Regions from separate parts of the Homo sapiens genome. Here all the other regions are linked to region 2. The links are contacts of gene promoters, found by promoter capture Hi-C in human tissues and cell types (Jung and others, 2019). All regions are on one chromosome and are shown on one strand. Each heading gives the region's core, a stretch centred on a gene start or on the middle of the fragment in contact. The rest is flanking DNA. Distances are from core to core; before and after follow the strand shown. Region 1 holds the start of CERCAM (cerebral endothelial cell adhesion molecule). Region 2 overlaps TBC1D13 (TBC1 domain family member 13). Region 3 holds the start of ODF2 (outer dense fiber of sperm tails 2).

Region 1 (2,700 bases), core at 178-2,677, 390 kb after region 2:
CGAATGCATTTTGAAAGATGAAAAGTACCTCGACTTTAAGGATCACACCTGGTGCATTCCCTGGTTACCTTCGTTAGGTGGGCAGATACCTACCTATGTGACCTGTGGCTGTGTGACCACAGGCCAGCCCCTGTCCCTCTCTGAATGGGGACTAGACAGAAGAGCTGCTGCTTTCCTCCACCCCCAGGTTGTAATAAGGACCAAACCATGCTCTAAGCGTCCCTAAGAATGCAGATGGGTCCAAGCTCTGCTGTCATGGGGCACAGCCTCCCCTCTCCTGGGGAAGGGGCCCCCATAACAGAGGTGGGGGTTTAGCCAAGTGCCCAGGTTTTGGGTGATGCTGCCCCTTTAAGCCAATTCCCCAGAAATGAAGACTACGTGTCAAGTCTTACAGGGGTGGGAACTAACAAACTCCCAAACTGTGGTAATTGTGGGCGGCCTCCCCAGGCCAGGGCTCCACCCCCCCAGCCCAACTGTGGTGTGTTGAAGAGGGTGGCTTGTCATTTTTCTCAGTTTACCCCCAACCTCAGCCAGGGACTCCTCCCTGTTCTGGTGTCTACAGACCAGGGGTTGTGGCCTTCGATCCCAGTGCCCTGGGGGTACAGAGATGCCAGAGGGGAGAGGCTCCAGGAAGGGGGACTGCCCTTGGCTGACAGGATCCCGCCCCTCTACCAAGATCTACCAAGAGAGCTGGCCCCAGCACGGGGGCGGTGGGGGGGCCGGTCTGACTCCCCTGCACAGCCCGGAGCCCAGTGCTGATGGCACCCCCAACCTGTGCCCGGAAGCCTCCAGCGTGGTCGATCCCTGCCACGTTGGGCCCCAGTGGACTTCAGAGGTTCCTGTCTGCTCCTCTTCAAATCCAGCCAACCACAGGTCCCACTGGGGTTGAGCTGGGCCCTGAAGGCTGGGGTGAAAAGGGCTGGCTGGGCCCAACCTACACCCAGGGAAGGCCCCAAGAGGAAGGAGTAGGGGACCAGAAGGAGGGGTGGGTGTCCCGCGTCGGCCTGTGGCCTCAGAGGTCTGTCGTCTCCCAGCAGGGGGCTCGGGGTCCTCTCTGGCGGCTCGGGCTGGCAGGGCCGTCTGTGAGGGGAGGGGCCTGTCTAGGTGGTGTCTGGGCAGGGAGCGAGCAGACAGGGCCGCCGGGGGCGGGGGCCATCTGCGAAGCTGGGGGTTAGGTGCCCACTCGGTGCCAATGCCCGGGTCTCTCACCAGAGGGCCATCCTGGCCCGGGGGTAGTCCAGCCGCTCCAGAGCGCCCAGGTAGTGGGGCAGCGAGTGTTCGGCATTGCGGGCCAGGATGGCAAGGACCACGGCGGGCAGCGGCGACTCCGCAACGCCCGCAGCCTCCAGCCACGGCCCCAGCAGGAGCAGCAGCTGGAGCAGCGGCGCGGCGCGGGCAGCGCGCATGGCGGGCGCTTGGGCGGCTGCAGCGGCCCCCGGAGCTCTCGGGCCGGCCGAGGGGAGGGGGCGGGGCCTGGGGCCCGGGCGGGGCCGAGGCAGACCCGGAGAGGGCGGGGCAGTGCACCCTCAGAGTGGGATCCTGCTCCCCACCCCTGTGCGTGGATGCTCAAGTTTTCTCTCCTTGGCCCGGGGCACCGGAGGGCCAGGGCCCGGGGACCCGCGCCAGCCGCGACCCTGGAGCAGCCCCGCCCGGCTGGACCCCGGAGGGGCGACGGCGGAGGGGCCGGAGGACCGGACAGGGGAGGGGTGCTAGGACGAGTGCGTCGGGGCCGGCCGGGCGTCCGAGAACAGTAGGGGCTCATGGAACCCCTGGGCGTTGAACCCCCGGAATCCGGATTCCCCGGCCCACGCAGCCGACTCTTCGACCTGAGCCGCAGACCCAGAGGGGCGGCGCCCACTCGGCCACCACCTCCCGGGCTTCCCCGGCTCCCGCCCCATCCTCCGCCCCGGGCGCCCTCTGGCGGCCCTGGCGCTAGCTCCGCAGACCAGCCGGGCCACGCGTGGGCCGGAGACCCAGCGTGGGGGGCGCAGAGGGAGTCCCCCTGAGCTGGGCGCGTCCTCCCGCGGCGGTCCGCTCCTTAAGTCCCCTGTGCGTCACCTCCTTGCGTCGGTCGCCAGCACCCGCATTGCTTCGGCCCTTTAAGAGAGCACAGCCAGGCCGGGCGTGGTAGCTCACGCCTGTAATCCCGGCACTTTGGGAGACCGAGGCGGGAGGATCACCTGAGATCAGTTCAAGACCAGCCTGGCCAAGATGGTGAAATCCCATCTGTACTAAAAATACAAAAATTAGCCGGGCGTCGTGGCGGGTGCCTGTACTCCCAGCTACTTGGGAGGCTGAGGCAGGAGAATCGCTTGAACCCGGGAGGCGGAGGTTGCAGTGAGCCGAGATCGCGCCACTGCACTACAGCCTGGATGACAGACCGAGACTCCGTCTCAAAAAGAAAAAAAAAAAAAGAGCACAGCCCTCACAGCCCTCTCTTGGTCTGAGTGTAGAACTAGGGGACACCACGGAGCTGCTCACTGCGACCCGACCCGTCCGTCCTCCAAAGCAGGGGATGTTGGCTCCCCTGGAGCACCGCCGGGGTCCTTAGGACCCTGCTGGGAGGGAAAGAACTCTGCAGCCTCTCGGGAGAGGAGCAGAAAAGGGAGCGGCCTGGCGGCACCACAGATGGGATCGAACTGGGTGTCTGTCACCAACCTCAGACAGGTCCCTTTCCCTCAGGAGCCTCTCGGGTAAAAT
Region 2 (2,700 bases), core at 200-2,699:
CCAACTCTGCCAGCGAGGCAAAGTAATGGTGATTCAAGTAGTGTGGTTCCAGGAGGGAAGGTAGGGGGCAGACAAGAGTGAGTGCACTAAAGAGTCCTGGGCAGTGTCTGCTGGGTCCCAGGCAGTGGCCCAAGCTTATGAAGGGGTTGGAGAAGGGGCTGAACCACCAGCTGACAAGTCCTGGAGAGAGGGTGGCCCAGGTGAGCAGGAAGCATCATGCCTCTGCCTCATCCTGGAGGTCCTGGAGTCAGCCCAGTTCTCTTCCCATCTTTACACTCAATTCCAGTACAGAACTCAGAGCCCGCTCAGCCAGGACCTGCTCGAAAACCAGGCAGTTCCTAGAAGCATGGGGAGAAGAGGCTGACTTTGATCTTGGAAAATGAAGAGGATCTTGTCTCCAACTCCTTTCTCCCTTCCTATACCCATGCCTCATCCCCAGAGCACTTGCCAATGTGCAATACATAGCCAGGAGTCTGAATAAATAGTCAAAGTCTCCCAAATACTGTGCTCTGGGAGAGGAGACAGGCAGGTGCGGAAATCCAGGCGGCATCAAAGGAAAAGCCTGGTAGAAGAGCCACCTGGGGAAGCCTTTCCTGGCCCAAAGCCGGGCTTGGAAGGGCAGCGAGAAGTCCTGCCCACCAGACTCGGAAAGCTTTGGGGGCAGGAGGGCTGCTGGGGCCTGACTCCTGCCAGCCAGTCTGGAGGACGAGGGTCCTCACTATGGCACCCGGCTTCCGGACGCAAACCTTGTACAAGGAGGGAGGTGACTTGGTGAGAACTGGGAGTGGCCAGCTGCCCCTGCTCAGGGTACACCTGCTCCAGCCCTGGGAACAGCTCAGGCAGGGGTCAGAGAAGGCCCTGCACCTCCCTCAGCCCGCAGCGGGTGGAGGGGTACACAGAGGCACAGACATGGCCCTCCTGGAACTGGCAGGACCCAGGGCCTTTAAGCTCAGCTACCCCTGGCCCCAGAGAGGCTTCCTCGGGCCCCACTTGCCCTTTGTGGGACTCACTCAACCCAACCCTGGGTTGGGACCTGGAAGCCGAGGGAATGACAACTCTTCTGAAGCAATGGGTTCCGACCCTGGGCTCAGAATCAAGGTCCTTTTCTTTTCGGACAGGAGGGCCTCTGGGGGAACCTCCAGAAAAACCAGCTCCCCCTCTTCCTTCTCCCTCCCTGGGCAGAAAGCAGGGGCAGGAGGCTCAAAGCTTCATCCTTACTCAGCAGCATTTGGTTTCCAAGATTTCTGTGTAGGGAACGGGTTCAGAACCCTCTAAGTGAGGCACGGAGGACTCCCTCCCAGTTGGGAGGACCTAGGAGCCAGGGCTGGGGGATGGGAACAGGAGGCAAAGGCCAAGCTTGACCTCCAGGGGCCTTGCTGAGCCAGTCTCCTCATCTGTCTCCCAGGTTCAGGGGAGCAGAGGCAAGCGGGGAGAGGAGGTGGCTCAGGATAAGGCACCCCAACAGAGAAGGGCAGGGAGAGTAATGGAGAGAGGAATCATGAAGCAAGACACAGTCCCACTCTGGGAAGGAGGTGGAAGGAGACAGGCAGAGAGGTAGAGACAGAGAAGGAGGGGCTGGGAGACCTGGAGGCCTGAGAGACCCTCACTCCCTAACACACACACACACACACACACACACACACACACACACACACACACACGGAGAAGATGCCTGGGGACTTGGGCCCACATTCACACCGACCGACTACAGACATCTGTGGGTGAGACAGACGGCAGGACTCAGCTTTCAGTGTCGCCTTCCCTGTGGAGCAGCCGAAGTGCCCCGCTCAGAAGCGGTTTCTGGCCCATTGGCCAAGCACCTCCCCTGAGTGGAGCCCAGGAGAAGACCAGAAGCAGGAACTGAGGCTGGGGCGGCAGAGCCGAGGCAGGGAGGGGCCCCTGCCAGCCTCCCAGTGCCAGAAACGGCCCTGGCCCAGGAAGGACAACTTCCCGAGCTCCAGCCCTCCTCAGTATCCTGGGCAAAGAGGGCAGAGTGCAGGGCAGGTGGGGAGCTGGGCGTGGCGGCAGAAGGAGCACGGCACAGTGTGTCCCCAGTGGGCATGGCCTGGGTCTCGGGCCGATCCTGTGGCTTCCCCTCAGGCTGGGTTCCTACAGGTTTCTATGTGTCCCGGGAGCCAGGGCACAGGGTCGGGAGGCTTCTCTCCGGAACATGGGCCTCTTGCCGCCGGGCTACTTTGAGTCTTGGAGCTCCTTGGCTTTCTGCAGGATCTGGCAGACATCTGTGATGGGGTAGTCCTGGGCACAGGAAAAGGCCAACAGTTGCCTCTGAAGCCACTTCACCCCTGCCACACCCACACCCTCCCTGCTGGGACCCGTTGCCATGCTGGATCCTGGGCCTCAGGGGCAGGAGCACAGAACACCAGGCATCCCACACTCCCCAACCCCCAGACCCCTGCATGCAGCTGACGCTACACCATGCAGCACCAACTCAACGATCCAAACACAACCACTCCCAGGCTCTTGCGGCCCTTTCCTCAGGACCAGACCGTGCTGCCTCAGCTCTCCCACTACTGCCACTGAACCCGAGCTCCCTCGTGTGGAGCCAGTAGGACTGGGCCAGTGTCTGAGCATCAGCGCGAAGTCCCAACAGCCCTGTGAGTGGCCACTGTGATTCTGCACTTTTTCCAGATCTGGTCCATGAAGTTAGGGAAAAGCAACTCTAGGCTGGGCTTGGTGGCT
Region 3 (2,700 bases), core at 21-2,520, 350 kb after region 2:
GGTGGAAGCTTTGGGGTTGGCAGTTGGATGAAAACTTGGGAGGCGCTCCTCTACTGTCCAAGTCGCACAGCAACTGTCCTGCCAAAGTAGGGGGAAATAGTAGAGGCTGAGCGACCTGGGGGCAGAGGGGAGGAAGGGGAGGGGACGGGGCAGAACCGCGAGGGAAAGGACCACCGCGCCCGGGTCCCACGCGGAGGACTGCCGGTGGCTACCGGGGGAAACCTGAGGCGCCGGCGGACGTGCGGAGAGGGCGGGTGAGAACCGCTCGGCCCCAAGTGGGCCCCAGAGGGCCAGAACCGCGCAGGGAGCCGCGGGGATGCTGGGGCGGGGCCGGACAACTGTCTCCTAGGAGAAGGGGCGTTACGGAAGAACAGATGCCCGAGAGGACCAATAGTGTTTAAAGGAGGGAGGCGCGGAGGTTGCACGGGCCCCGGGCGCCCCGCCGCGAGGGAAAACCGAACAGAGTTCTGAGCAGGATAGACGCCGGGCTGGGAGGGGGCGGGCGGGACCCCCCCCCGCCGGGCGAGGGCCCTGGCAAGCCGGAGACGGTGCCCGGGGGACAGCGCTGCCTACGGAGGGCGTACAAGTGACTGCCATGTGGAGGCCCGAGGAGAGGACGAGGCGGTCGGGGCGATGCCGCCGACGGGCAGCAGAGCGAGGGAGAGCCTCTGTCGGCGGAGAGAAGGGACGGCCACCCACCAGCAGGCAGGAGGGTACCGGTTTCTGCCCATAGAGAGAAAGGTGAAGCCCTGCCCGCGGGCGGCAGAGGAGGGGCAGAGCCCCGTGGTAGCCAAGAGAGGAAGGAGGCGGCCGACCGCCCGTTAGCGGGAGGAGGAGAGGCCCCGCGCCGGTGGGCGGGGCGGGGGCCCAGGTTCTGACAGGAGGGGGACGAGCGCAACGCGGCGGGGAACCCAGGACCCGACGGCCCCGCGGGGTCGACCGCGCCGGGGGTGCGAAGGCGACGGTCTCGCCCGCGGTGCCCCGGAGGGCGCTGGATCCCGCCTGCCGGCGGCCTCTCACCAGGAGCGACACGGCTGCGCCCAGAAACGCCGCCTTATGAAGTCGTTGAAGTCGGAGGCCAGGGTCGTGCCATGGAGACGCCGCGGCGGATGCAGTCTGGCTCTGGCAGCGGCTCCTCCCCGCTTCCGCCTCCTTTTCCGACACCCGGTCGGCAGCTCGCCCATTGGCCAGTTCAAACCCCCCCGGGAGCCGCTTGGGTTTCGCCATCGAGGCCCAGCCCCTAGCGTCACAGAGATGCCCCGCCCCGCCAGAAGGGCCGCCCACTTCCGGGCCACGCGTCCCGTCACCAAGGAGACGTGCTACGCGTCCAGCGGGCCTGGCCGGGTCTCGCCCCCCATTCAAGGCCTTTCCCGCTCGGCCCTGTTTCCCCTGCCTTGGATCCTCCCGGATTCCCCTCACTCAAAGGAGCGTACGGTTCCGACGCCCTCCCCTCGGTACCCACCAGGAAACTAGGCTCACAGAGGACCCATGGAACTAGTTATTGGGAGCTGCACACTGCCTCCGAAAATCCAGCCCTGCCCCTAGTCCACTATTAATGCGGAGATGGAGTCGGCTTCTGCGCATTCCCCGGCCTCTCCCCTGCCCACATCGCCTCTGTCTTGGCCCCAACAGGAGAAAGGGTCGGCATTCCCCTTGCTGTTCTGTTCACTACCTTCCTGCACTTTTTTTTTTTTTTTTTTTTTTTTTTTTTTTTTTTTTTTTGAGACAGATTCTTGCTCTGTTGCCCAGGCTGGAGTGCAGTGGCGCGATCTCGGCTCACCGCAACCTCCGCCTCCCGGGTTCACGCCATTCTCCTGCCTGAGCCTCCCGAGTAACTGGGACTACTGGCGCCCGCCACAACGCCCGGCTAATTTTTTTTTGTATTTTTAGTAGAGACGGGGTTTCACCGTGTTGGGCAGGATAGTCTCCATCTCCTGACCTCATGATCCACCCGCCTCGGCCTTCCAAAGTGCTTGTATTACAGGCTTGAGCCTCCGCGCCCGGTCTACTACCCTCCTGCACTCTCTATGCCGCTCTGTGTACAGACCTATTCTGATGAGGTCCTTGCTGGTCCGCCATCTTCTCAATTATGCTTCACTGTCAGCCAGTCAGGGGAGGTCTGTCACGTGGCTCATAATGCCGCCCTGGAATCTGGGAGACCTGAACCACCTCCGGGCCAACTGGGCCACAGTCCCTTGACCTTTCTCCAGTGACCCCGCAGCACCTTAGCCACACAGCTCCAGGGTCACACAAGTGTTTCACCTGCAATCCTAAAGTCAGACTCGCAAACAAAACCTGCTTTTCCGCCTCGCTTTCACAGTATACTGCATACTGAATTTGTTCTGTAATGTCAGGGAGCTCCCCAATCCCTTGATCCATTCATTGTCTCTCTGTTGAATAATTGATAGATTTCCTAATCCTCATTAACCATTTAAGACTGCGGTGGCTCACGCCTGTAGTCCCAGCACTTTGGGAGGCTGAGGCAGGCGGATCACCTAAGGTCAGAAGTTCAAGACCAGACTGCCCAACATAGCGAAACCCCGTCTCTACTAAAAATACAAAAATTAACCGGGCATGGTGGTGTGTGCCTGTAATCCCAGCTACTAGGGAGGAGGAGGCAGGGAGAATTCCTTGAACCTGGAAGGCGGAGGTTGCAGTGAGCCAAAATCACCACTACACTTCAGCCTGGGTGACAGAGTG

What was found. The method cuts DNA at HindIII sites, captures the fragments that hold promoters and counts their contacts. A contact is called where the count stands out against the background at its distance.
Region 1: the fragment with the promoter of CERCAM here is called in contact with a fragment that was not itself captured in region 2 in 4 of the 25 tissues and cell types used here (dorsolateral prefrontal cortex, hippocampus, lymphoblastoid cells and 1 more).
Region 3: a contact is called between the fragment with the promoter of ODF2 here and a fragment that was not itself captured in region 2, in 2 of the 25 tissues and cell types used here (dorsolateral prefrontal cortex and spleen).

Annotation. Positions count from the first base shown.
Region 1 is chr9:128,419,584-128,422,283 of GRCh38, reverse strand. It overlaps CERCAM (cerebral endothelial cell adhesion molecule), which reads right to left and starts at 1,427. Exons shown (of 13, transcript NM_016174.5): 1 at 1,210-1,427. The coding sequence starts at 1,406. RefSeq lists an enhancer at 692-881 and a silencer at 1,142-2,041. The HindIII fragment of the contact is 34,497 bases long and covers 1-2,700 here.
Region 2 is chr9:128,807,370-128,810,069 of GRCh38, reverse strand. TBC1D13 (TBC1 domain family member 13) reads right to left here. Exons shown (of 12, transcript NM_018201.5): 12 at 1-2,256. The coding sequence ends at 2,191. Among named protein-coding and RNA genes, the nearest start is that of ENDOG, 9.8 kb to the left of the region's middle. The HindIII fragment of the contact is 3,371 bases long and covers 1-2,700 here.
Region 3 is chr9:128,454,576-128,457,275 of GRCh38, reverse strand. It overlaps ODF2 (outer dense fiber of sperm tails 2), which reads right to left and starts at 1,270. Exons shown (of 21, transcript NM_001351578.2): 1 at 1,021-1,270. The coding sequence starts at 1,184. RefSeq lists silencers at 118-167, 378-527, 558-657, 788-1,097 and enhancers at 1-724, 1,318-1,367, 725-1,460, 1,498-1,587, 1,461-2,197. The HindIII fragment of the contact is 20,941 bases long and covers 1-2,700 here.